Regions from separate parts of the Homo sapiens genome. Here all the other regions are linked to region 1. Evidence: promoter capture Hi-C in 16 types of primary human blood cells and fetal thymus (Javierre and others, 2016). All regions are on one chromosome and are shown on one strand. Each heading gives the region's core, a stretch centred on a gene start or on the middle of the fragment in contact. The rest is flanking DNA. Distances are from core to core; before and after follow the strand shown.

Region 1 (3,674 bases), core at 808-3,307:
TGGCCTAGAATAGGTCCAGAGATGCCATCCAAGAGCCAAGGACTGGAATCAGGGACCCAAAGAGCTGGCTTGGTGCTCTTTCCCACTGTGGCTAAGCTGGTACCTAAGCTCAAGACGGAGTCCCCTTTATTCTTCCCTCTGTTCTTCTCAAGCAGAAGTGGTCTCTCCTCGTAGCCACCAGACCTGTGAATGTGCTGGGTCACATCTGAAGCCAGTGCATTTCGGAGTTTCAGCTGAGGCCCACGGTATGTAGTACTTGGCTACTGCTACTGATTTTTCAGGGTCCAAAGGCTCTTTATTCAGCATGTGATGAAATCTGCCAAGACTGGGTCCTTCCCTTCAAGGCAGTTCCCTTTTGGCCCAGGGTATATCTAGAAATGTCATCCAAGAGCTAGGGCCTGCAATGAGTGCCTCAGGATTTTGCCCAGTACCCTATCCTACTCTGGCTGAACTGGTATCCAAGTTGCAAGACAAAGTCCTTTTCACTCTTCCCTCTTCTCTCCTCAAGCAAAGGAAGGAGTCCCTTTTGGAGCCATAAGCTGTGTTGCCTGGGGTTGGGGGAGGGGTGCTGTAAGCACTTACTTAGCCATCCTGGCTGGTGTCTTACTAGATCGTGCGCTCCCCAGTCCACTGGCTCAGAGCCCAGCACAGCACTAGGACTTGCCTGGGTATTGCAGTTGTTGTGGCCCAGACAGGCTTTCAAGTTTATTTAGGACCTCAGAGCACTTTAGCCCATGGTGGTGGAGGTAGTCAAAACTCAGTTTCTGAAACCTGGGATGGGCAATTCTCCTCTGGCTAAGGGTGGTCTAAATGGTCCCTCCATTGGCAACAGCTAAGTTCTGCCCCGTATTGGCAGCACTGAATTCTAGAGTCCCACAATCGCTGTGCCCTCCCTCCAAGTGCACAGATTCTCTCTCCACACTATGTGGCTGCTGCCAGGGGATGGGGGAGGGGTGGTGTCAGCAATTCAAGATTGTCTTTCTTATCTTCCTCAGTGCTTCTTTCAACAATACGAAGTTAAAACCAGGTACTGTGATCACTTTGTGATCACTGATTTTTGGTTCTTATGAAGGTGCTTTTTTGTGTAGATAGTTGTTAAATTTGATGTTCGTGCATGGAGAACAATCAGTGAAGGCTTCTGTTTGGCCATCTTGCTCTGCGTCCTCCCCAACTTAGGATTTTTTTACTTTATCATGGGTTCATCAGGGTATTGCATGCATTTTTGACTTACAATATTTTCAACTTGTGGTGGTTTATTGAGATGTAACCCTATCATAAGTCAAGGAGCACCTGTACTATGGTAATAGAGACAGCTAGTATATCCCTTTAAATAGGAAACATACAGTGTCATAAGCTCAATGTGATTTATTCAGATTTAGACCCTAGTAATTATAAAAGTCTATACAAGTTTTTTTTTCTTTCTCAGCAATCTTAACTTCCTGTGACTGAGATTCATTGTTTTAAAGTGCATTCACAGTTGAGAAGGTTTACTTCAGAATCTCAGGGAACTGCACTAAAGAATCTGGTATCAATTTTCTGAGGATTTAAAAAAATCATACTTAAATGCTGAGTTATAAAAGATGTTGGCAAGTACAACATTTTTTCCAAACTATACGATAAAGAGCATTGAAATTTATCATGCCCCAAACCCATTAAAATTATCTTCACCTGTAACTGAACATCAGCTGTTATTTCCTTACCTTCTTTTGGCTTTCAACTTCTAGGATGTCTGTTGAAACACCCCTCAATGTTTATGTGGCCTCCAAGGCATACAAACATTTACCAGGGTAACCCCATAAGGAAAGAATTGGAAGTTTCATTTATTTTTTTCCTACCTTTAGTTCTCTTTTTTCCATCTTTCAGATCTTTAGATGTTCTGAGTTTTTCTAGCTGGAGACTGGGGAAACCTAGCTCCCCTCACTGTGGCCAGTGGAAGACTGCTGTGGAGAACCTGAATCCAAAGTGTTTTTTGTTAGGAGACGAAGTAAACAGGCCAGTTTACAGTTTCAATACCAGTATGCCTTTTTCTCTACCAACATCTGTGTGATTTACATCTTGAATCATATAATTCCATTCAGAATGAAAAGCTCAGTTTCTGATTGGCTGAAATGAGTTCTAGTATTCCTTTCTTTGTTAGAAGTCAAAATCACAATGTTCTGGAACATTAGCATGTGTTGGGTAAAGTTGATAACAGTATACTAAAACTCAGATAGCTGCTTCAGTACTGAAGTCAGAACAGTTCTCCCTGGAAAGACAACCAAACTTTTCTCTTATTGTAGCACTACATTGTAATTGCTTATTTAGCTATTTTGTAAGCTACTTTTATTCTGTTACTTCTCTGGTATTCCCAGGGTCCAGGACATTATCATGAATTCAAGAAATGTTTGATGCATAAATAAAGGAATGAAAATATATAAGGAATATTATGTTTACTAAAGGCATAATAGTTTGGCTCTTCCTGACTATCCTGAGTTATGATCAACTCTGAAAAAGGGAGTAATTTTTCAAGTCTATTAAACATAGCAGGGTGGAGGTGGAGGTAAGAAGAGTTGGGGAAAGGTATATTATGAAACATAGAAATACTATTTACTAAATACATATTAACAAATCTTAGCATAATTTAATTTTACTCCAGGCTGCCCCCCATCCCTTTCCCCTGCCCTCTTTTTTCTTGCCTATAGAATGTAAGGAAGGGAACACACTTCTTTGTTAAGGAAAACTGAGTAAGGTTGTCATTTCATTCTGTTATGACTGGAGTTTTTCCTTCTCATCATTCATCAGGTCAATTTAAGTTTTATACATCTAAACTGTGTAACACTGCATATAAAAATAAGTCCATGTTTAAGACAAAGTGGAAAAGTACCAAACACTTTTAAAAAATGAATTGAAGAAAACCTTCTCTTTGACAACTTCGGTTTTCATTTGGGGAGGTGGTATGAAATCATCTAGGTACATTTTTGTCTATTGGGATGAAGAATGCTATCCACTAAGAATATTGATTTAAAAATCAAATGCCTGGACTGGAGGGGAAGGAAAGGACAAAAGACTGCATGCTATGTGCTATTTTACATCAAGTCACCTCCTTCCTGCTATACATGAGCTTCAGTTGATGCCTTGGTTTGGAGCCTTTGAACTTTCTTAGTTATCACTGATTTTAAATGGTAGTCACTGGACCGGGGATACAATTAAAATAATGTAACATGCCATATGAACATTTTAAACCAAGAAACTGATTTTTCATTTTTGAGTGGAGAACTCAGTCCTTAAAAAAATTTGTGGTCCGAAGAAACAGCATTACTAATGAGGACTCTCCCTTTTACAACTGGGGGTTCCTGCCCACATCTTCCAAATACCTCCTTTGCCAGGGCTTGCCTAGGTCAGATGTGAAGTAAATAGAACTGATGAATGATTTTTTTGACTCTCTTGTCATGTAGTTTTCTGTCATCTTAATATGCTGAAGGGGAGCACATTCAGAAGTGATCTCATTTGAGAAGGACTACTTTCAAGTTCTATTTTAGGCCACATAAATTTTCAAAAAATAAAATTCTGAATTAAATCTTAAACCTTTGGGAAGGCTTCAGATCACATATTTGGTGGAATGTACTATATTACCTAAATAATAAACATTTTATTTGGATACATCTTTGGGATGCTTGTTAAAAAATTATAGATTA
Region 2 (3,674 bases), core at 343-2,842, 470 kb after region 1:
GTGAAAATATGTTTTCATTAAAAATCCTCCATCTCCTGGTGGTGTTTTCCTTTGGTGTAATTTAGAATTTTCTAGACTTGTTACCAAGGACTAAACCTCCCCTTGCAGGAGTGAGCAGGCATGCTAAATTGAAATGGAAGGTGATCTGATGTAAAACGCCGCTGCCCACAGAGGGAACTGCGTATCAGCTGTGAGAGCACTAAGCAGCAAAGTGATTTAAGAGCATTACAGTTGACAGCCACTTTACTATCTTAAGAGGATTTCATTTTCCATTTTGTCAACAAGGAACAATATACTTTGCATCCAGAAATTAAAGAAGGGTAAGAATGTGTGAGGAAGAACAAGATGCTATTCCAGAAACTCCTTGACCCACTTCTAACAAGCATTATTTCCCCCAGGAATTTGGACGAGGTTAGATAGTAAGCTTATTATAACCACAAAGGAGAAACTGCAACCAAATTGGAAAAGAGAATCAGGACCCAAAATTATCTCACCAGGCTGGAATCATCAGTCAAATTTAGCAAAAGAGATTTACTATGATAATACATGCAAAGTACTGTTCTTAAATCAATGCTAATAGAGGATCCAGGCAAAGTGCAAAAAAGAAAAAAAATTTGGCAGTTACAATGGGCTGCAAGTTCACTATGAACCAGTAATAAAGTGTCCTGGCCCCAAAATTAATGTGATCTAAGACTGAGTTAATTGCAGGTTAATGTCCACAACAGAAGGGGCAGTAGTCCCTCTGAGTTATGTGCTAGGTTGAGCCCACAGGGATTGCATGCAGTATTGGATGTCATGCTTTAACAGCTTTACTGACAAACTGGAGTATATGAAAAAGGACAATGACCACAACGGTGAGGAAACTAAATCCCACATCCCATACTTTCCTACAACAAATTAAAACAAAAGCATAATGGGAATTCTATGCCATTTATTATAAAGGCATTTCTTTTAAAGCTAAACCTTCTTGGCAACTTTCCTGTCTACTAGAAATCCTTCAGTTAAAATTTTTTAAATGAGGTCAGAAAATGATGTATTGTAAATAAAATAAAGAATTGGGGTCAGGCATGGTGGCCTGTAATCCCAGCACTTTGGGAGGCTGAGGCGGGTAGATCACCTGAGGTCAGAAGTTCGAGACAAGCCTGGCCAATATGGTGAAACCCCATCTCTACTAAAAATACAAAAAATTAGCCAAGCATCATGGCATGTGCCTGTAATCCCAGCTACTCGGGAGGCTGAGGCAGGAGAATTGCTTGAACCCGGGAGGCAGAAGTTGCACTGGGCTGAGATCACGCCACTGCACTCCAGCCTGGGCAACAGAGCAAGATTCTATCTTGGGAGGAAAAAAAAAAAAAAAAAAAGAATTGCGCATGGGGCATGCTAAATGCTTCCCTAAGTTCTCATCTATTTAAAGGTCAGATAACTGATATCATGAAAAGTGCCAGATGACTTGACTAAACTAAAATCATAAATGTAATTATCTTAATTGAAGGTGTGCATATGGCATTTAATTACAAAGGAAAAAAATAGCAGCAAAGTTTGTGATAAGTAGGCGATAGCAAGCATCACATTCAGCTAGCATATGATGTTTGAAAGAAATAAATCTGCAAGAACTAGATATGAGTGTGAGGGCATAGATGTTAGTCCTCTAGATACCTTAGCAGATCATCTCTTATATGGCAATTTTTATTTAGTTGAAATTTGATTATTTTAAAGTTTTGAAGTCCTTCCTTCCAACAAAGGACTATCATGGAAATACCTAGAATTATCACTCATTTCTTACCAAAAGCCATGACATAATAACTAACTCTCTGAATTGAGAGAATAAAATAATGTAAAAAGGAGAGTGTTTTATTCATGTTGGCAGTAAAACTGGTTCTATTAATGATGAGAAATACAAATTATAACACTCTAAGAGAAAATAGTTATTTAAACATAGAGGTACTACCTGTCCCAGTCATAGAAAGTTATTTGGTTTCTATAGAAGCAAAGAAGCAATGATATAAGTTATTCATTGATTCATATTGCAAAATAACTCTCTTCAAAATAGCCAATAAATGTACTAGTCTTTCCATTTATAATAAATTCCATGTACTAAATTTTGTGTTATTAAATTTTCATGGAATACAAACTTCTACTGTATTTGCCCCTGTAAATCAAAAATAAAATCCTAAGCCTCCCCAACCGATTGAAATGGATCCCCTCTGGGCCAAGGGAACCCCAGAGAAACCTGAAAATTTGAATTCTCAGCCGTGATGGAAAGGGAGGTTGGACATGTCTTGTTACACCCCCTCCCTCTTAGAGTTTAGACACAACTGACTGACCAGCATTACCATTAAAACAGAGATCATTAAGACCGAAAAAACAAACTCTTTGTGGCAATAAGATACCAAATTCCAACCTGACTCATGTAGCATCACATGACAGATAGCAGATCCTAAAGAAAATCAAAATGTTTTATCTCCAAGTATATTTCTTTGACATATTTTGACATGGTCCTGCAAAGCCATCTTTTATGGAGGAAGTTTGCATTTGCAGATAATCTCCATTAATGCAGCCAGGCTTTTCCCAGGTTTAAGAAAGGATTAACTAAAAGTGTGACATTTTAAGGTCCCCAAAAAAGACATCTGCCATCTCTTCTCTCTGAAGGCTGTTACCTGGAGGCTTCATCTACATAACAAGAACCTTGGTCTCCACAACCTCCCTTATCTTAATTCAAGAATATTTTTCCACTGACTTGAGGTCTTCAGACAAAGCTTAACTCTTTCAACTGATTGCCAATCACAAAATCTTTGAATCTACCTATGACCTGTAACACCCCAACTCTCACTTCAAGATATTCTTCCTTTTTAGGCTGAACCAATGTACACCTGCTATGTATTGATTTATGATTTTACCTACAATTTGTATCTCCCTAAAATGTATAAAACCAATCTGTAACCACTTAAGCTCACTTTCTCAGGACTTCTTGAGGCTGTTTCCTGCGCTATAGTCATTAATATGGGCTCATAATAAACCTTTTGAAATGTTTTACAGAGCTTAGTTTTTTGTCAACACCTCCACTAAAGCTTAAACTGAGTAGGATTTCACAAGATCCCAAATTCAGTATTCAGTAAGGATGTTGGGGGAACACATTCATTCATTCAAGGAGCATTTATATAAATGCCTATAAATTTCCCAGGAGCTATAAGGAGGTGTTTAGAATACAACATAAATAAGGCATGGTCTTCACTCTCAAGATGCTCATTGACCACTAGAGAAAACAATTAGATAAACCCCTAAACTTTAGAGAATGAGAATGGTTTTGCCAAACATAAGCACAGTTAAAGAAGAGAAAATCAAGTAGATGACAAACGAAACTTTCATAATGCAAAACACCGCATGTAAAATATTTCAAAGTTTGGCTCCTATTTCAATAATTTTGTCACTTGATAACCAAGTAGGCACCAAGTCTTACATTTATTTGGAGAGTTCAGAATATGAGATTTGCATCTTCCCTACCTTGAGATCAAAGTGTGTGTTTTATCAAAGTAATCATCATGTCTTAGGTAAAAGAACAGGAGGGAATGTCAGTCACCAGGATCATTAGAACTGATAAAGCAACCACCAGGTTTTATTATTTGAAGTAAGTACTGAACAAATATGAGGCAAATAGAGTTTACAATATCTTAAAG
Region 3 (3,674 bases), core at 442-2,941, 450 kb after region 1:
AATCTGTATTTAAAGTGCCTCGCATACTGCCTTCTGCACAGCAAACACTCAATAACTGGTTTTATCACTATTATAGTATATGCCTATCAAAACAACCTAACAAGGCCCTCTTCAAATATCATTTCCACTAAGAAACTTCCCTTGATCTCTCCACTATAAGGAATGTGTTTCTCCTCTAAAGCTTTTCAAGATCTTGTGAATGTACTACTTACGTGATTTTGCATGTAGAAACAGCCTTAAAGATTTTCTACCAAAGCCAGTGCTTGCTCTTTACAGATAAAGAAACTAAATCCCAGAAGGCTAAGTAACACGTTCAAGAATATTCATATAACATGTATTACGCCTTCCACAGCGTAGTAACTAGTTGTTTGTGTTTTATCTCCAGTGCTACAAAGAAAGTGCTTAGAGAGTAGGACTATGTCTTCTACATCTTTGATTTAACATTCCTTAAGGATACAGAAATGATTACAAGAATAAATGAATGAATGATTCCAAGTCAAAACTGAACTACTATTTGCTGTTTTTCAAAGACTATGAGGTCTTGAATACCTCTTTCAGCATTTTAGAACTTCCAGTGTTCTTTTCCTCGTTCAGTATGAACCAACACTCTAGAGCAAAATCTCTCAGACTTTCCTTTTAGAAGCAGATCTTTTTATGAGCCATCTCCTCCCCTTCTGGTCTAATCAGTTATAGAGACTAACTCAGGATAAGACTCTCAAGAGTATGTTGTTGCTGTCTGGACTTCATTTTCGTATGAAGCTTAATACCATGAAAATATTATATTTTCAATTTCCCAAAACCTGTGTTGGCTTTTGTGATAAGGTTTTCTGGGTTTTTTGTTTTTGTTTTTGTTTTTTTAGCAAGCCTTCAATTACACATTGTGCTTCTTAGGTTGCAGAATTCAGACTATTTTGCTTCTTAGGTTACAAAGTTCAGATTATTTTCCATTCTGTAATATATCCTTTCAATTGGGAGTGGCGTTTTCTGGCCATATGAAAATCTGCTACTCATTAAAGAATTAAAGAACTACTACTATAGGGAAACAAAGTGTTAAGCTATATTTCATAATTGAAGAACTTACCAAAGTTGGAAAAGAAGACAAACTTGTGAAAATTAAGCAAAAGATTTAAATAAAATTTCAAGATAAGCAGCTTAATGAATAATTGTCAAATGAATGCTATGTAGATTTCACAAAGGGAGAGGTCTTTTTAGGGTAGAGTGATCTGTAAAGGATTTATAGAAAGGGTAGAATCTGAATTAGACTTAGGAGACTTCATATAATTGGGAAAAAACCAAGAGGAGAAAAGAGAATATTTAAAACTATAAACAAGTGATTAACAAAAGCACCAAAGAGAAAAAACAAAAGGAAATAGGAGATATACGGCTGGGCAAATAAGAACACATACCAAATTTTTAAAAATAAAAATGTGTGAAATTAACAAGTGAAAGCATAAAGCATTTATGAAGAAGTGTAAGAGATAGAATGCATTCCTCTTTGTGGTTAAATGTTAAATAAGATAATGCACAGAAAGAATTTAATACAATGCCCATTTCATACTAAGTATATTTAAAATGTAGGCTACTGTTATTATTTTTTTAAATGTTCAACATAAAGGTAATGCTGAAATTTGACAAGCACACCACTGGATTGTTATAACCTGTTAGGGAAAGAGATTTCCACAGAAAACAAAACTGAATTCTGATAATAGCTACTTGATTCTTCTTTGTTAACATCCTGAAAGAAGAAATTTTAAAAAAATCCAATTGAGACCCATTGAAAAACAGTGACCAGTAAAAAGTTAGAAGGAATGTTAGTTGTATACACAACATCATATATACAATATTGAGCTCAGTGGTCCTAATGATGATTCTTACTATACCCTATATTTGATTTAAAAGCTAATTTTAGAATACAGCGCTTACATAAGATGGAACTGCATTGCATATGAAAATTCATACTCATCCTAAAAATAATTTGGAGGATAATTATATATCTTAGCAAAAATATTTCTATCTATCACATTTAAAATAAAATTTGAATCCAAAAACACATTTTATATACTTATTCTTAACACACGCTTGTTACCTAAGTTAGTATGTAAATTAACACATATTAAGTACTGTTAATACCCCACAAAAGTTCTGGAAAATAGGTATTCTCCTGGCTAACCTGTAACTTCTCTGTGCTTCAATTTCTTCCTATGTAGAATGGAAATAATAATGATCATGATAATAATGATAATAATATTCCATAAAGCTAAAAAAAGTCAATTTCCCAAAAATGTTACCCTTAAAATGTTTAATATGTATTGTCTTACCTTTATTATTCTTCAGTAGTTCTGAGTTTGTTATTGGATTATTTTAAAAATTATTTCAAGATATAATGATTTTTCGTGCTTCAAAGTATTCCATCGATAAAATGAAAATAGCAGTAGGATGCAGAAGGAAGGAACTATCTATGCCAAATAAGAATAAGTGCTTATCTTTATCTGTTTCCGCCAAAACTTGTGGTTTTGCCCAATGAAAGCCCCAAAGTCACATGGACTTCTATATTTACTAACTCTTGACCCTTAGAGTAAATTAAAAATGACTGAGAATCTGCTGTACTACACACCAAGCTTTTAGTCACACACATTATTTCATGTTAATACTCCAAACAACCCTGACTGTTCTGGGTAAACTGTAACTTCTCTGTGCCTCAGTTTCCTCTATGTAAAATGGGGATAGTGTCACCTACCTCCTAGGATTGTTGTGAGGATTAGATAAGACCATATATTTATTAGGGCCCAGAGAGCAATACCTCAAAATACGGTGTTTTGACATGCTGAACTAAAGAAGCAGCCCCAAGGTCTCTCTCTGGCCTTCACTTGCCTATCTGTTTCTTTAATCTTTTTTTGCTGAAGCACATTGGGAGAGACCCTTTCTAGAATTTCCTTTATATGACCAAGAAAGCTTCTTTATCAAAGAAATGCAATTATTTTAAGACCCCCCGTTTCTAGGAATCCCAATGAAGAGACTAGGAGTCATCACCATGTCCAGACAGACTTCTCATCTATTGTTAGGGCAGCTCCAGAGATTACCTGGGAGATGCTATCTGCATAATAAGACAACTTTTGTTCACAGTGAAGTTCAGCCCCTCGTGTTCCCACTGCCTCCCTCAGAGCTCACAGGAACTTCATCCTGACTATGATTTATCATTGTTCTTTGTGCTCATTCATTCCCCCTAAAAACCAATTACTCCTACACCTCTACTTCTCTTAACCCAGTGAAGAGGGTACTTTAGCATCAACCATGTGGCCCTTCTTTGAGTTTTCCTATTTTTTATGGTTCCCATGCTTATACACATTAATAAATCATTATGCTTTTCTCTTGTTAACCTGTCATTTTTTTATAGGAGTGTCAGCCATGACCTTTATGATGAGGAGCAAAGGGATCACCTCCTTTCTCTCCCCACATTTGGAAAACACTTAGACAAGTGCCCAGAAAGCATGTACATGCTAAAGCTCGTGTAAATGTCATTATTAAAATAATGATAACAGTTATTATAGCTTTTCTAAGAAATAAAGTGTTTTTCCATCAAAGCTAAATAAGCCAATTGAAGGCAGAATCTGAGACATCTCTACGAGTTTCAGCTGTAACCACTAAAGTTCACACTTGAAGAACACAACAATAGC
Region 4 (3,674 bases), core at 553-3,052, 430 kb after region 1:
CCTACATAATGAAGCTTCCATAAAAATCCAAAATGGGCTGGGTTTGGAGAGCTTCTGGATAGCTGGAGATGCAGAGGTTTCTAGAGGATGGTGTGCCCGGAGAGAACATGGAAGCTCCACATCGCTTCTCATACATTGCCCTATGCATCTCTTCATCTGTATCCCTTGTAATATTCTTTATAACAAAGAACTGTTTCTCCGAGTTTTGTGAGCCCCTCTAGCAAATTAATAGAACACAAGAAGAAGGTTGTAGAAACCCCAATTTATAGCCAGTCAGTCAGAGCACAGGGTAAACAACCTGGATCTTGTAACTGGCATCAGAAGTGGGGGTCATCTTGTGGGACTGAACCCTCAATCAGTGTGATCTGATGCTATTTCCAGGTAAATAGTATCAGAATAAAATTTAATCAGAGGATACCTAGCTGATGTCTGCTGCAGAAAAGAATTAATTGCTTGTTTGCAGTAGGGAGAAATCACCACACATCTGGAGTCAGAAGCGTGTTTGAGAATATAGTAGGAGAAGCTGAGTTTGTTTTTTCTACGTGGACTACGTGTGGACTCCTCAGGAATGTGACTGGGCTGAACTCACTAGAATTCACTGATGGTATGACTCTCTCTGTCCCAATCAGACAACCATGGCTCAATCTCCTATGGGAAAGAAGGCTGTAAGACAGGAATGGTTCAGCACCATTTTTATAACTAGATTCCAGTCCCAGTTTATAATCTGACTCTTCCAAGCCACTGACGCTGTAAAGGGAGTCCTGGTGATGGTCCTTACTTGTCATCTGGAGCCTCTACCTGCTTGTTACAAGCCCCAGTTTCAGGGATGGTGGAGGAAACCAAGAAGAAAAAAACAGTTACCATTGCAGAATTCTGGAAAGGCCTAAGAATTGGAGAACCAATGCTAGGGTATAGGAAGAGCTGAAAATAAAAGAATTGGCTGAAGGCTCCTAGAGGACACACCCACATAGCTACCCTTCCTCAACCTCAGCAGAGTACTGAAGACTTGCTTCAAAAGAGGTTGAACCAGAGGGACTCTGGACTCCAGAAGAATTTCAGGAATGCCATCATGAAAGCAGAGGAATTAATTAAAAGTGTACACACTGAATAGTGAGAACCATCCTCCTCCCACTCCATCCCCTGACCCACCAATTCTTGGCTCCAAGAACACTAGACATCAGGCTTATACCAGACCAGCTCAGGAGAAAATACTCATAGAACCTAACAGTTGAGGAAGTCTCCTAACAAAATGGTCAACTCTCAGCACAGTTACTCCATGGGAAAACCCACTGGTCAATGAATCCCTGTCATGTACATAAATCAGCTTTTTGGTGCTCCACTCTCATGCACGAACAAGCGGCAAAAGATCGACAAACATTTGAAAAAGGTCTCTAACATCAAAGACAGAGACAAAAACAAACAATCAGAAAACAATAGATTCAGACAATGTAGATTACAAAAGAAAACCTTCAAAAAGCTCTCACTAAAGTCCTTGGAGGAAGATATTGTATTTATGAAAACAAGAACATGATGCTATTTTAAAAAATAAAAATAAGATTCACAAAGTAAAAATATGCTTTTGGAACCTCTAAAATGAATCAGAAGAGCAGAAGATAAAGTTGATAAAATCTTGCAGAAAGTAGAACAAAAAGACAAAGAAATGATTATAGAAGAGAAAGATTGAAATAAAGGATTCATTTAGGAGTTCTAACATGCTAATAAGAACTACAGATAAAAAGAACAAAGAAATTGGGACAATTAATTATCAAAAAAGAAAAATTCCTAGAACTGAAGAACATGTATCTCCATATTGAAAGGGCACATCATTGAATGCCCTTCCACAATCACTTTAAACAGACACACACCAAGGCCAGCACTGAGGTCTCTGAAGATAAACTGTCGTTATTCAACTTAGAGAAGTAAAAAGTTTAAACATACGCATAAGAAAGGACCTTTTCTGGATATTGAGATGACAATACCAAATAAATCCCTGCTTATACGTACATTTTTTCTCAAATAATTATAAGCTAAATAATATCTTACATGCATTAGAGCTTCCTATTTTAAAGAAACAAGACAAAGTAAAAAACACAAAGGTTTTTCACTGGAAGCATATGCAGGTAACTCATAATAATTAGTAGATTGTCTGAATTCTGCTGTACCAGAAGTTTATTTTACCAACTTTTTAAAATATGCAGCCCATGAGGCTTAGAAATGCCTGTTTTCTTAGATCTCATTATTCTTAGATTTATATAGATTTTGACTATATAAATTTCATTATTTTAGTAAATCTTTACTAAAATTATTTATTATTTTTTAATATTAAATACTGAATTTTCTATTTAAAATACAAAAGGTTTAACAACATTAATAATGGCTAATTTATTTATAATGAAACCAAATCTTAAGAATTTATGTTACCTTTAAAGATACCAAAACTCCTGACACTTTAATTCCTTCTCATCTTAGTAGTCACACACTCACCTTGAGGATCAACTTCTTTAGCTAGCTTCAGCGCATCTGAGTTTGCAAGATCAGTGTTGGCTGGAGTAACAGCTAAAATCAGACAGTTCTCCCTCGTGATGAACTGCATAATCATTTCTCTGATCTGATACTCGATATCTGGTGGCTGATCTCCCACAGGCACTTTAGTTATTCCAGGTAGATCAATAAGGGTTAGATTTAACACTGTGTGGAAAGGATAAAGGAGTCTTACATACACCTTCAATGCTAAAAGATAACAATACAGAATCATTTGTCACTTAGCTCAGCCTTCTACTTTGTGTATCTGAACAACTCCAACCCATGTGTGTAGAATAAAGAGCATAAAATAAAAATGGTTTTGCTAGTTTTCTCTATTTTTATGATATGATTGTGCTATGCCAAATGATCACTTTAACATAATTTGAAAGGCACTGATTTGCATGCCTAACAGTTTGCTCAGAAAGCTGTCATATCTGTAACTAGGGGGTTATAATTAAAACACCAAATGAGAAATGCATATGCTATCTGCCAGTCTTATACATTGCCTTCAAGTGGTATAAAAACTCACAGGGTAAGACTGCCCTTTCCTTAAAAAGTATCATTTTTTTTTTTTAATAGAAAGTTAACCACTTAGCCTAGTAGAAAGCTGTTAGCCATTCGTGGTGCCCTGGGTTTACTGAATCAGCTGTACAAACAGAGTCAGTGACAACATGACTCTAGCCCAACCTCTCCATATAAACAATGTTGGCACCAAGTACCCTTGGGAAGTCATAATTGAGCTTATGTCATTTATATTCTGTTTTAAAAGCAATAGAGCTAAGTAGGGAATAAGAAATGAAAATTTGCCCACTAAAAATTTAGTCAGCATACAGGTTATTTCCCATCACACATTATGGATTGGTTATCTAATTTATAAGTTTCTACCGATAGTCTGGGGGAAAAAGTCAGAGCTGATTTCTCAGGAAGAAAATAAATAGGACTATATATGGCTGCAAGACATCCAATAGGGGAAGATGCAACCATAGTAACATGTACCTCTAAGATTTCAGCAAAGACTGAAAAATGGAAGTTTTCATATATACCCTTCTCAAATTCTAAAAGCTTATAATAAAAATGAAGAAAAAATTTGATGACTAACTCAATTCTGTTTTTATTAAAGTCATCTCCTACTGCCTCTCCTTAAATGTCTT
Region 5 (3,674 bases), core at 757-3,256, 410 kb after region 1:
AATAAAAAAATCAAGAGGTATACGAGATTTAAACAACACTATCAACAAACTTGACCTAAAATACATCTATAGAACACATCATCCAATAATAGTACTTCTACCGTTATACATTTAATAAAATATATGCAAAATATGTAAACTGAAATCTATAATATACTGCAGAGACTACTGAAATAAATGAAAAAAAAAAAGATGTTCATTGACTGGAGCATCCAATACTGTTAAGTCAGTTCTCTCCTAATCGGTCTACGATAGTGCTGTTTGACAGAACTTACTGCAATAATGGAAATGTACTGTATTGACTTTTCCAAGACATTGACCATATGTGGCTATTGAACACTTGACATATGGTAGTGTGAATGAGGAACCAATTATTAAGTTTTAATTTTAATTAATTAAATTTTAATTTAATTAATTTAAACCTTAATAGCCACATGTGGATAAAGGCTAGAATATTGGATAGTACATGCTACAGATGTAACATAATTCCAAGCAAAATCCCAGTAAGCTTTTTGCAGAAACTGACTAGCTGATTACAAATTCAAATAAAAAGATAAACTATTATTTTAAAAAACAATGATAAAAAATACACTATCTGATTTCAAAGCTTACTATAAAGCTATGGTAATTAAGATAGTACATTATTGGCATAGGGTTAGATACACACAGACACCAATGAAACAAAATAGTGAGTCCAGAATTATAAATATAGGTTTAATATATATTAATACATTATATAATATTATATATCATATAATATATATAATATAAATATATATATTATATGATATATAATATATAAATACATATAATATATGATATATAATATATAAATACATATAATATATTATATAATATATAAATATATATTGTATATATAAATAAGTACATGCATGTTATATATAAATAAGTATATGCATATGTTATAGGTTTAATATATAAATATATTAATATAATATATTTATTAATATTTAATTAATATAATATTTAATATGATATATTTATTAATATTTTAATATAATATATTAATATTATTTATATAGTAATATAATATAATATATTAATATATATTATATAATACATATTAATATTTATATATTATATATTATATATATTAATATATATTAAACCTATAACATATGCATAAACATACACATACGTAAACATACATAATTGGTTTCAGACAAAAGATGCCCATGTAATTCCATGGAGAAAGGACAGTCCATTCAAACTAAATGATGGTACTGGAGTAATTACATATCCATATGAAAAATAATGAACTTTGACTCTTACTTCACACCATATACAAAAAAAAAAAAATTGCAGACCTAAATTTAAGGCTAAAACTAGACCAATGGAACAAAATAGAGAACACAGAAATAAATCCACGCACAGCCAACTGATTTTTGACGAAGGCACAAAGAACACACATTGGAGAAGAGACAGTCTCTTCAATAAATGGTGCTGAAAAAACTAGCTTTCCACATCCAAAAGTATGAAATTAGACTCTGATCTCTCACCATATGCAAAAATCAATTCCAAATAGATTAAAGACTTAAATGTATACCCAAAATTATAAAAAACTACTCGAAGAAAACAGAGGAGAAACTCTTCGTGACATTGATCTAGATAAAGATTTTTTGGATAAGAATAAGAAAGTACAGGCAACAAAAGCAAAAACAGACAAATGAAATTACATCACACTAAAAAACTTCTGCATACCGGAGGAAACAACAGAGAAAGAGACAACCTACAAAATAGAAAAAAAAAATTTGCAAACTGTGCATCTGACAAGATGGTAATATCCAGAATATACAAGGAACTCAAACAACTCAATAGCTGACAAACAAACCATCTGACTTTAAAATGGGCAAAAGACCCGAATAGATGTTTCTCAAAAGAAGACGTACAAATAGCTAACTGATATATGAAAAAAATGCTCAACGTCAATAATTATCAGGGAAATGCAAATGAAAAACACATTGAAGCTGGCATGCACCTGGCCAGCTACTCAGGACTCTGAGATGGGAGAACCGCTTGAGCCCAAGAGGTTGAGGCTGCAGTGAGCCATGATTGCATCACTGCACTCCAGTATATGTAAAGAGCAATACCCTGTCTCAAATAAATAAATTAAACTTTTTTAAAACCTAAAACTACAAAATTTCTAGATAAAAGCATAAAAGAAAAAATCTCTGCAAACTTGGGTTAGGCAAAGTCTAATGTGATTATGGGCATAATCAAAAGAGCCATATAAAAACTTGATAAATTGGGCATAATCAAAAGTAAAATTTGCTCTTCAAAAGATACAGTTAAAGAATATGAGAAAATAAACTATAGATGAGAAAGCATTAGAAATATATAATGAAAGATTTGTATCAGAAATATTTTTAACTCATTACTTAATCCTAAGAAGACGAACACAACTCAATTTAAAATAGGCAAAAGATTTGAACAGACATTTCACAAAGCAGATATACAAACGGCCTATAAGGACGTGAACTGATGCTCAGCATCACCGCTAAGATGACACTCAGAGACATGCACATCAATGCTGCCTCACAGACATAACAATGAAAACAATGAAAATAAAACTAACAAGCACCAAGTGTTGGTGAGAATGTGGAGCAATTAAACACTCATATTGCTCTTGGGAATAAAAATTGTACAACCATTTTGGAGAACAGCTTAGTAGTTTTTAAAATTTTTTTAATATGTGCAATTCCTCTCTTAGGTATTTTCCTAAGTGAAATGAAACATATGAACATGGAAAACTTGTGCATTAATATTTACAGCAGCTTTATTTGCAATAGCCCAAAACTAGAAACGACCTAAAGATCCACTAACAGATAAATGGAAGACAGAATATGGTATATTCACAGAATGAGTTACAATTCACCTATTTAAAAAAATGAACTACTGAAAACATGCAGCAGCATGAATGATTCTCAAAAACATTATGCTGAGCAGAAGCCAGGCACAAAGAGTACTTAGTGTATGATTCCATTTACATGAAACTCTAGAAAAGACAAATCTAATTTATAGTGACAGAAAACAGTTCAATGGTTTCTTGGAGCCAGGAGTTGGATACTAGAATAGACACTGACTGGCAAGTGACACAAGGGAGATTTTATGGGTGATGAAAATGTTCTGGTACATGGGTTGACATTTGTCAAAGCTCATCAAACTTTACACTTAGAATGCATACTTCCCCACCCAAGCCTACTGTCTCAGGTAGCCTCAAGGTAACCACAATAAGTTGAAAGAGACAGAAGAAGGGGGTGGAGGGTATTGGCCACATGAAAAATAAATAAATAAAATAGATTTAAGATCTGTGTCTAGGAAAAATCATTGGGTACAGTTATTTGTACATGGAATTAACAAGAAGCAGATAGTAGAGAAGCTTACTGAGTTTTTAAAGTAACTAAATTCACAAAGAAACAAAAGGCCTGGCCTGAAAAAGCCTCTGAGTCTTAAAACAACTTTCATCACCCCAAGTTTTTACAAGAAGAAGGCAGGCTGTGAAAGCTGTGAATCTCTCAAGAAGGTCACAATCCCCCATTTCTTCTTCAGATATGTCAAAGAAGATAATGGACAAGGAAGAAACTTTCACAAGTTGAACACAGGAAGAATAATAGACAACAGACAAGAGCGTTCCTCCTAGAAAGCACAATTAG
Region 6 (3,674 bases), core at 611-3,110, 390 kb after region 1:
TCCCTGCAAAGGACACGAACTCATTCCTTTTTATGGCTACATAGTATTCCATGGTGTGTATGTACCATATTTTCTTTAGCAGTCTATCACTGATGGCCATTTGGGTTGGTTCCAATTCTTTGCTACTATAAATAGTGCATCAATAAACATATGTATGCATGTGTCTTTATAGTAGAATAATTTATATTTCTTTGGGTATATACCCAGTAATGGAATTGCTAGATCAAATGGTATTTCTGGTTCTAGATCCTTGAGGGATTCCCATACTGTCTTCCGCAATGGTTGAACTAATTTACACTCCCACCAACAGTGTCAAAGCATTCCTATTTCTCCACATCCTCTCCAGCATCTGTTGTGTCTTGACTCTTTAATGATCGCCATTCTAACTGGCATGAGATGGTATCTCATTGTGGTTTTGATTTGCATTTCTCTAATGACCAGTGATGATGAGCTTTTTTTCATATGTTTGTTGGCTACATAAATGTCTTCATTCGAGAAGTGTCTGTTCATAACCTTTGCCCACTTTTTGATGGGGTTGTTTGTTTTTTTTCTTGTAAATTTGTTTATGTTCTTTGTAGATTCTGGATATTAGCCCTTTGTCAGATGGGTAGATTGCAAAAATTTTCTCCTATTCTGTAGGTTGCCTGTTCACTCTGATGATAGTTTCTTTTGCTGTGAAGAAGCTCTCTAGTTTAATTAGATCCCATTTGTCAATTTTGGCTTTTATTGCCATTGCTTTGGTGTTTTAGTCATGAAGTTTTTGCCCATGTCCTGAATGGTATTGCCTGGGTTTTCTTTTATGGTTTTTATGGTTTTGGGTCTTACATTTAAGTCTTTAATCCATCTTGGGTTAATTTTTGTATAAGGTGTAAGGAAGGGGTCCAGTTTCAGTTTTCTGCATATGGCTAGCCAGTTTTCCCAACACCATTTATTAAATAGGAAATCCTTTCCCCCTTGCTTGTTTTTGTCAGGTTTGTCAAAGATCAGATGGTTGTAGATGTCTGGCGTTATTTCTGAGGCCTCTGTTCTGTTTCATTGGTCTATATATCTGTTTTGGTACCAGTACCATGCTGTTTTGGTTACTGTAGCCTTGTAGTATAATTTGAAGTCAGGTAGTATGAGGCCTCCAGCTTTGTTCTTTTTGCTTAGGATTGTCTTGGCTACATGGGCTCTTTTTGGTTTCCATATGAAATTTAAAGTAGTTTTTTCTAATTCTTTGAAGAAAGTCAGTGGTAGCTTGATAGAGGTAGCACTGAATCTATAAATTACTTTGGACACTATGGCCATTTTCATGATATTGATTCTTCCTATCCAGGAGCATGGAATGTTTTTCCATTTATTTGTATCCTCTTTTATTTCCTTGAGCAGTAGTTTGTAGTTCTCCTTGAAGAGGTCCTTCACATGCCTTGTAAGTTGGATTCCTAGGTATTTTATTCTCTTTGTAGCAATCATGAATGGGAGTTCATGCATGATTTGGTTCTCTGTTTGTCTCTTATTGGTGTATAGGAATGCTTGTGATTTTTGCACATTGATTTTGTATCCTGAGACTTTGCTGAAGTTGCTTATCAGCTTAAGGAGATTTCAGGCTGAGACGATGGGGTTTTCTAAATATATAATCATGTCATCTGCAAACAGGGATAATTTCACTTCCTCTCTTCCTATTTAAATACGCTTTATTTCTTTCTCTTGCCTGATTGACCTGGCCAGAACTTCCAATGCTATGTTGAATAGGAGTGGTGAGAGAAGGCATCCTTGTTTTGTACCGGTTTTCAAAGGGAATTCTTCCAGCTTTTGCCCATTCAGTATGACATTGGCTGTGGGTTTGTCATAAATAGCTCTTATTATTTTGAGATACGTTCCATCAATACCTAGTTTATTGAGAGTTTTTAGCATGAAGGGATGTTGAATTTTGTAGGCCTTTCTGCATCTATTGGGATAATCATGTGGTTTTTGTCGTTGGTTCTGTTTATGTGATGGATTATGTTTATTGATTTGCATATGTTGAACCAGCCTTGCATCCCAGGGATGAAGCCAACTTAATTGTGGTGGATAAGCTGTTTGATGTGCTGCTGTATTAGATTTGCCAGTATTTTATTGAGGATTTTTGCATCAATGTTCATCAGGGATATTGGCCTGAAATTTTCTTTTTTTATTGTGTCTCCACCAGGTTTTGGTATCAGGATGATGCTGGCCTCATAAAATGAGTTAGGGAGGAGTCCCTCTTTTTATATTGATTGGAATAGTTTCAGAAGGAATGCTACCAGCTCCTCTTTGTACCTCTGGTAGAATTTGGCTGTGAATCTATCTGGTCCTGGGCTTTTTTTTGGTTGGTAGGCTATTAATTACTGCCTCAATTTCAGACTTGCTATTGGTCTATTCAGGGATTCAACTTCTTCCTGGTTTAGTTTTGGGAGGGTGTATGTGTCTAATAATTTTTCCATTTCTTGTAGATTTCCTAGTTTATTTGCATAGAGGTGTTTATAGTATTCTCTGATGGTAGTTTGTATTTCTGTGGGATCAGTGGTGATATCCCCTTTATCATTTTTTATTGTCTATTTGATTCTTCTCTCTTTTCTTCTTTATTAATCTGGCTAGCAGTCTATTTTGTTAATCTCAAAAAACCAGCTCCTGGATTCATTGATTTTTTGAAGGGGTTTTCGTGTTTCTATCTCCTTCAGTTCTGCTCTTATCCTAGTTATTTCTTCTCTTCCGCTAGTTTTTGAATTTGTTTGCTCTTGCTTCTCTAGTTCTTTTAATCGTGATGTTAGGGTGTCGATTTTAGATCTTTCATGCTTTCTCCTGTGGGCATTTAGTGCTATAACTTCCTCTATAAACACTGCTTTAGCTGTGTTCCAGAGATTCTGGTACGTTGTGTCTTTATTCTCATTGGTTTCAAAGAACTTATTTATTTCTGCCTTAATTTTGTTATTTACCCAGTAGTCATTCAGGAGCAGGTTGTTCAGTTTCCATGACGTTGTGTGGTTTTCGTGAGTTTCTTAATCCTGAGTTCTAATTTGATTGCACTGTGGTCAGAGAGACTGTTAGTTACGATTTCCATTCTTTTGCATTTGCTGAGGAGTGTTTTACTTCCAATTATGTGGTCAATTTTGGAGTAAGTGTGATGTGGTGCTGAGAAAAATGTATATTCTGTTGATTTGGGGTGGAGAGTTCTGTAGATGTCTTAGGTCCTCTTGGTCCAGAGCTGAATTCAAGTCTTGAATATCCTTGTTAATTTTCTGTCTCGTTGACCTAATATTGGCAGTAGGGTGTTAAAGTATCCCACTATTATTATGTGGAAGTCCAAGTCTCTTTGTAGGTCTCTAGGAACTTGCTTTATGAATTCTGGATGCTCCTGTATTGGGTGCATATATATTTAGGATAGTTAGCTCTTCTTGTTGCATTGATCCCTTTACCATTATGTAATGCCCTTCTTTGTCTTTTTTGATCTTTGTTGGCTTAAAGTCTGTTTTATCAGAGACTAGGATTGCAATCTCTGCTTTTTTTTGCTTTCCATTTCCTTGGTAAATATCCTTCCATCCCTTTATTTTGAGTCTATGTGTGTCTTTGCACATACGATGGATCTCCTGAATACAGCACATGGATGGGTCCTGACTCTGTATCCAATTTCTCTCTCTCTGTGTGTGTGTGTGTGTGTGTGTGTGTGTGTGTTTCTT
Region 7 (3,674 bases), core at 451-2,950, 350 kb after region 1:
ATGCCCATGACTAAACAGCTCAAAAATGGTTGGTTCAGGATTCCAACCTAAGTCCTAGGACTCCAGAGCCCATGGTCTTGTCCATTACTCTTCGAGCATGATTCATCCCATGAAGCACAAAGAGACTCCTTTAACTTTTTAAATTCTCCCCCACAGAAAATATATGTGTATATGTACATTTTTTTTGCAAAACTATGGAAATTGTGTATGTCAATCACTTAACCCCATCTAAATTATGCAGGTAATTGTTCAAAACATAGTTTGCAAAAGTGAATACCTTAATTCAGTTGTTTTCAATATAAGGAAGAAAGAGAATGGGATGCTATGAAAATGTTTAAGGAGCCCTAATCCAGAAGGAAGACTTAGACAGGCAAAGGTGTGTGAGAATGGCCGTGGAGAAGATGAAGCTTGCCAGGAACAGGAACATGTGTGAAGGCATGGTGGAAGTGGGGGCAATTAGTGGCGATAAAAGTAAAAGAAAGTCCGTGCAGAAACTGAGGAGTATGATCCTCAGACAAAGCTAGAAAAGTAGAGAGGGGCCACATCAAGCAGATCCTTGCAATTCTATCAGGAATTTAGGCTACTGAAGCAATTCAGATGGAATGGAAATAATGGTGGCTTCTACTGGGATGACAGCAATGGAAATGGAGAAAAGTGGGCACATTCATGACTTAGGCCAGGCAAAATATTAATTCCAATGATGATTTTTAAAGTGCTTGCAAATTAATAAGATTAACAGATAGCTCAATAAAATAGGCAAAGAATATGATTTAATTTGTAAAAGACTTAATAGTCAATAAGCAGAAGGAAAAACAAACTGTACAAGTGATCTAATGCAAAGAAAAGAAATAACTATTATATTGGCAAATTGCTATTTTTTTATAAGACTTACTACAGGTGAGGGTATACTGAGATTAGCACAATTTAAACTTGCTGAGGGGTGTCAAGAAGAGAAATCTTTCTGGAAAGCAATTTGACATTATGTATCAAAAGTCTTGCACGCGCGCACACACACACAAACACACACACACACACACACACAAACACAGAGACAGAGAGAGAGATCTCAACCTAATAACCTCACAGAATTCTGAACTACAATGATAAGGACATTCATCACAGCATTAGTTGGAAAAGCAACAATAAGATAAACAAACTATAAACTACCTAGTATCTGATGATGTTAAATAAATGAAGGTAGATCCACTTACGTGATGTAATGTAGCCATTTTGAATAACAGTTTTAATAATAACTAATGACATGGTAAAGTATTTACAACACTATTTGAAGAAAATTAGGCTACTAAATATATAATGTGGTTATGCACAAGCATAATGTTTTGGTTTGGATATTTCTTTCCTCCAAATTCATGTTAAAATTCAATCCCCAATGTGGCTATATTGACAAGTGGGGCTTTTAAGAGGTGATTGGGCCATGAAGGCTCTGCCATCATGAGTGGATTAATCCATTCATGGACTAATGGATTAATAGGTTATGGGAGTGGGACTGGTAGCTTTATAAGAAGAGGACTAGCGACCTGAGCTAGCATGCTACCACACTCAGCACCCTTACAATATGATTGATACCCTGCACCAGCAAGAAGGCCCTTACCAGAGGCAGACCCTCAACACTGGGTCTTCCATAACTGTAAGAAATAAATACCTTTTCTGTATAAATTCCTTTTCTGTATAAAGAAATAAATTCCTTTTCTGTATACCCAGTTTCAGGTATTTTGTTATAAACTACAGAAAATGGACTAAGACACATCCACACACACATGCACACACACACAGAGTCACACACCACCATACACCCTTGACATTTTTCAAGGATATAGCCCAATCTTACAAATACCAACATTCTTGAGTAATATTATAGCATGTAATATTTCTCCAAACTCATAAGGAGTTAGATCTAGGCCTCCCTGAAATGGGGCTTCTGTATGGTCACCTGAGGTCACTGTGCACATTACCTTTATAGCATGCACAACATATATTAGTGTCTTAGCAAGTTAACAAACTGCAGTACTTCATGAAACCATCATAATCACGAGATCTCATATACATTAAATCTTCCATTGCTGCAAGTCTACTCTCTGTGCATAGAAAAAGATTTGCACAGATACTATAAAGTGTTAATAGCAATAACTCTTTGAATTATGCACACTTTTATTTATCTACATTTTCCAAATATTTCAACAGTGGATATAGATTATGTTCATAACATCATAAAACCATAGAAACCTGACTGCTTTGGTTACCACAAAAATCATCACCAGCGTCTCCATGAGGTCCTCGATTTCTCACCCTCTTATCTGAATCCTGAGATGCACGCTCACCTGGGGGCTTATTTCATGAATTACCGCAAGATACAAATGGAGCTCATACTTCCCATTTTGGAAACATTCTCCAGAAAAAGCTCTATTATACCAGAACCCCTCTTGACTCTCTGAAAGTCCTCCAAGTTATTTTTTGTGAGGCTTATAAAAGCCTTCAGAGTGGAAGAGATAGCTGATCAATTCCAGTCCTTCTTGACTAGTGCAAACCTGAGTGGTGTATCTGACACCAAACATTAGCCTGCCCTAGGTCACCAAGACAATCAATTCCGCCTGCACTCAGACAGCTTCCCAAGCTATTCAATGACAGCCACACTATTATAGAATCACATTGCCTCAGAGAAGTAACTACGCAAGCATTTGAGGTCTACCAAGGAAGAGTGAGATGGCTTTAACAGCATTTAGCAAATAGATTACAGCAGAAAGTTATTTTTAAAACCATCAAATAGTGGCAATATAAATATTTATTCAGATACTAAACACTTGATAGCTGAAGGACCCCAGGCCAGTATATGGCCATCATTAAGTCAGGGAAAGGCCAAAATGACAAGAATATCCCATGAAGTAGAGACATCTAAGAATGCCTCCAATCTACTGGCCTTGGCAGGAGCATTGATTTGTGTGCACGTGTGTGTCTCCTGATCTTTTCAAGCTTACTGCCCATGGGCTTAATTCTACCAGAAAAGGAATCTGTAAGAGCCACAATTTTGTACCTACAATTGAGACAACTGGAAGTCAATAAGCCTGAATTCTAAGTGGAACAAAAGAAACAGAGAACACACTAGAAGAACTACCATTATGGAGACAAAGGAGGAAAAACCTTGAAGAGACACTAAGCAATGTAGGATCTAGGCCCACCACTGAATGGCATTAATGAAACAACTGGTTTGGTTACTAGCTGGTTGATATTGAACTGATTGTGGGAGTATAAGAGTCAAAATCTTGGTTTTAACTGCTGGCTTTCAAATATAAAATATATAAATATATATAAATAGTCCCAAACATATAAATAGTCCCAATTCTTAAGATACATACATACAGAGGTTAAAAAATAAAGTCCTACTGACATTTCAATTGATTTCTGATTAGGCTTTCTACCACTCATTTCATTATCTCATTTAATCTCATAATGAGATTATTTCATGATCTCATTCAAACTGTGCCCTGCTCAGTTTGTGTCACCCTTTACTTAGCTTTAAAACATACTTAACTTTGATTGCTCAATTCAATCCCTCACCTCTCTTCTATGTCTCTTATTTAATGTGCAATCACCATTTCCTCAATCATTTATACCATTATAATTGTCAATCACTTTTGCACTTTTTTAATTTGAATGTC

What was found. Contacts are between HindIII fragments. The CHiCAGO score rates a contact against its expected background, and 5 or more counts as called.
Region 2: a contact is called between a fragment that was not itself captured here and the fragment with the promoter of C1orf105 in region 1, in 1 of 17 cell types (M1 macrophages). The highest score is 7.2, in M1 macrophages.
Region 3: a contact is called between a fragment that was not itself captured here and the fragment with the promoter of C1orf105 in region 1, in 2 of 17 cell types (M1 macrophages and total B cells). The highest score is 6.4, in M1 macrophages.
Region 4: a contact is called between a fragment that was not itself captured here and the fragment with the promoter of C1orf105 in region 1, in 12 of 17 cell types (M1 macrophages, M0 macrophages, naive B cells and 9 more). The highest score is 14.8, in M1 macrophages.
Region 5: a fragment that was not itself captured here is called in contact with the fragment with the promoter of C1orf105 in region 1 in 10 of 17 cell types (M0 macrophages, total CD8 T cells, M1 macrophages and 7 more); the score reaches 11.0 in M0 macrophages.
Region 6: a fragment that was not itself captured here is called in contact with the fragment with the promoter of C1orf105 in region 1 in 2 of 17 cell types (naive CD8 T cells and M1 macrophages); the score reaches 5.6 in naive CD8 T cells.
Region 7: a fragment that was not itself captured here is called in contact with the fragment with the promoter of C1orf105 in region 1 in 1 of 17 cell types (M1 macrophages); the score reaches 5.4 in M1 macrophages.

Annotation. Positions count from the first base shown.
Region 1 is chr1:172,419,068-172,422,741 of GRCh38, reverse strand. C1orf105 (chromosome 1 open reading frame 105) reads right to left here and starts at 2,057. Exons shown (of 7, transcript NM_139240.4): 1 at 1,836-2,057. The coding sequence starts at 1,856. It overlaps LOC102724528 (a long non-coding RNA gene), which reads left to right. Exons shown (of 3, transcript XR_001738294.3): 1 at 1-245. The HindIII fragment of the contact is 10,347 bases long and covers 1-3,674 here.
Region 2 is chr1:171,951,108-171,954,781 of GRCh38, reverse strand. The region is part of intron 2 of DNM3 (dynamin 3); the gene reads right to left. Among named protein-coding and RNA genes, the nearest start is that of DNM3-IT1, 89 kb to the right of the region's middle. The HindIII fragment of the contact is 2,332 bases long and covers 427-2,758 here.
Region 3 is chr1:171,968,890-171,972,563 of GRCh38, reverse strand. The region is part of intron 2 of DNM3 (dynamin 3); the gene reads right to left. Among named protein-coding and RNA genes, the nearest start is that of DNM3-IT1, 110 kb to the right of the region's middle. The HindIII fragment of the contact is 1,859 bases long and covers 762-2,620 here.
Region 4 is chr1:171,987,959-171,991,632 of GRCh38, reverse strand. DNM3 (dynamin 3) reads right to left here. Exons shown (of 21, transcript NM_015569.5): 4 at 2,485-2,688. Among named protein-coding and RNA genes, the nearest start is that of DNM3-IT1, 130 kb to the right of the region's middle. The HindIII fragment of the contact is 3,571 bases long and covers 17-3,587 here.
Region 5 is chr1:172,006,230-172,009,903 of GRCh38, reverse strand. All of the region lies in intron 4 of DNM3 (dynamin 3), which reads right to left. Among named protein-coding and RNA genes, the nearest start is that of MIR3120, 130 kb to the left of the region's middle. The HindIII fragment of the contact is 2,793 bases long and covers 610-3,402 here.
Region 6 is chr1:172,027,581-172,031,254 of GRCh38, reverse strand. The region is part of intron 4 of DNM3 (dynamin 3); the gene reads right to left. Among named protein-coding and RNA genes, the nearest start is that of MIR3120, 110 kb to the left of the region's middle. The HindIII fragment of the contact is 4,804 bases long and covers 1-3,674 here.
Region 7 is chr1:172,064,321-172,067,994 of GRCh38, reverse strand. All of the region lies in intron 10 of DNM3 (dynamin 3), which reads right to left. Among named protein-coding and RNA genes, the nearest start is that of MIR3120, 73 kb to the left of the region's middle. The HindIII fragment of the contact is 2,581 bases long and covers 410-2,990 here.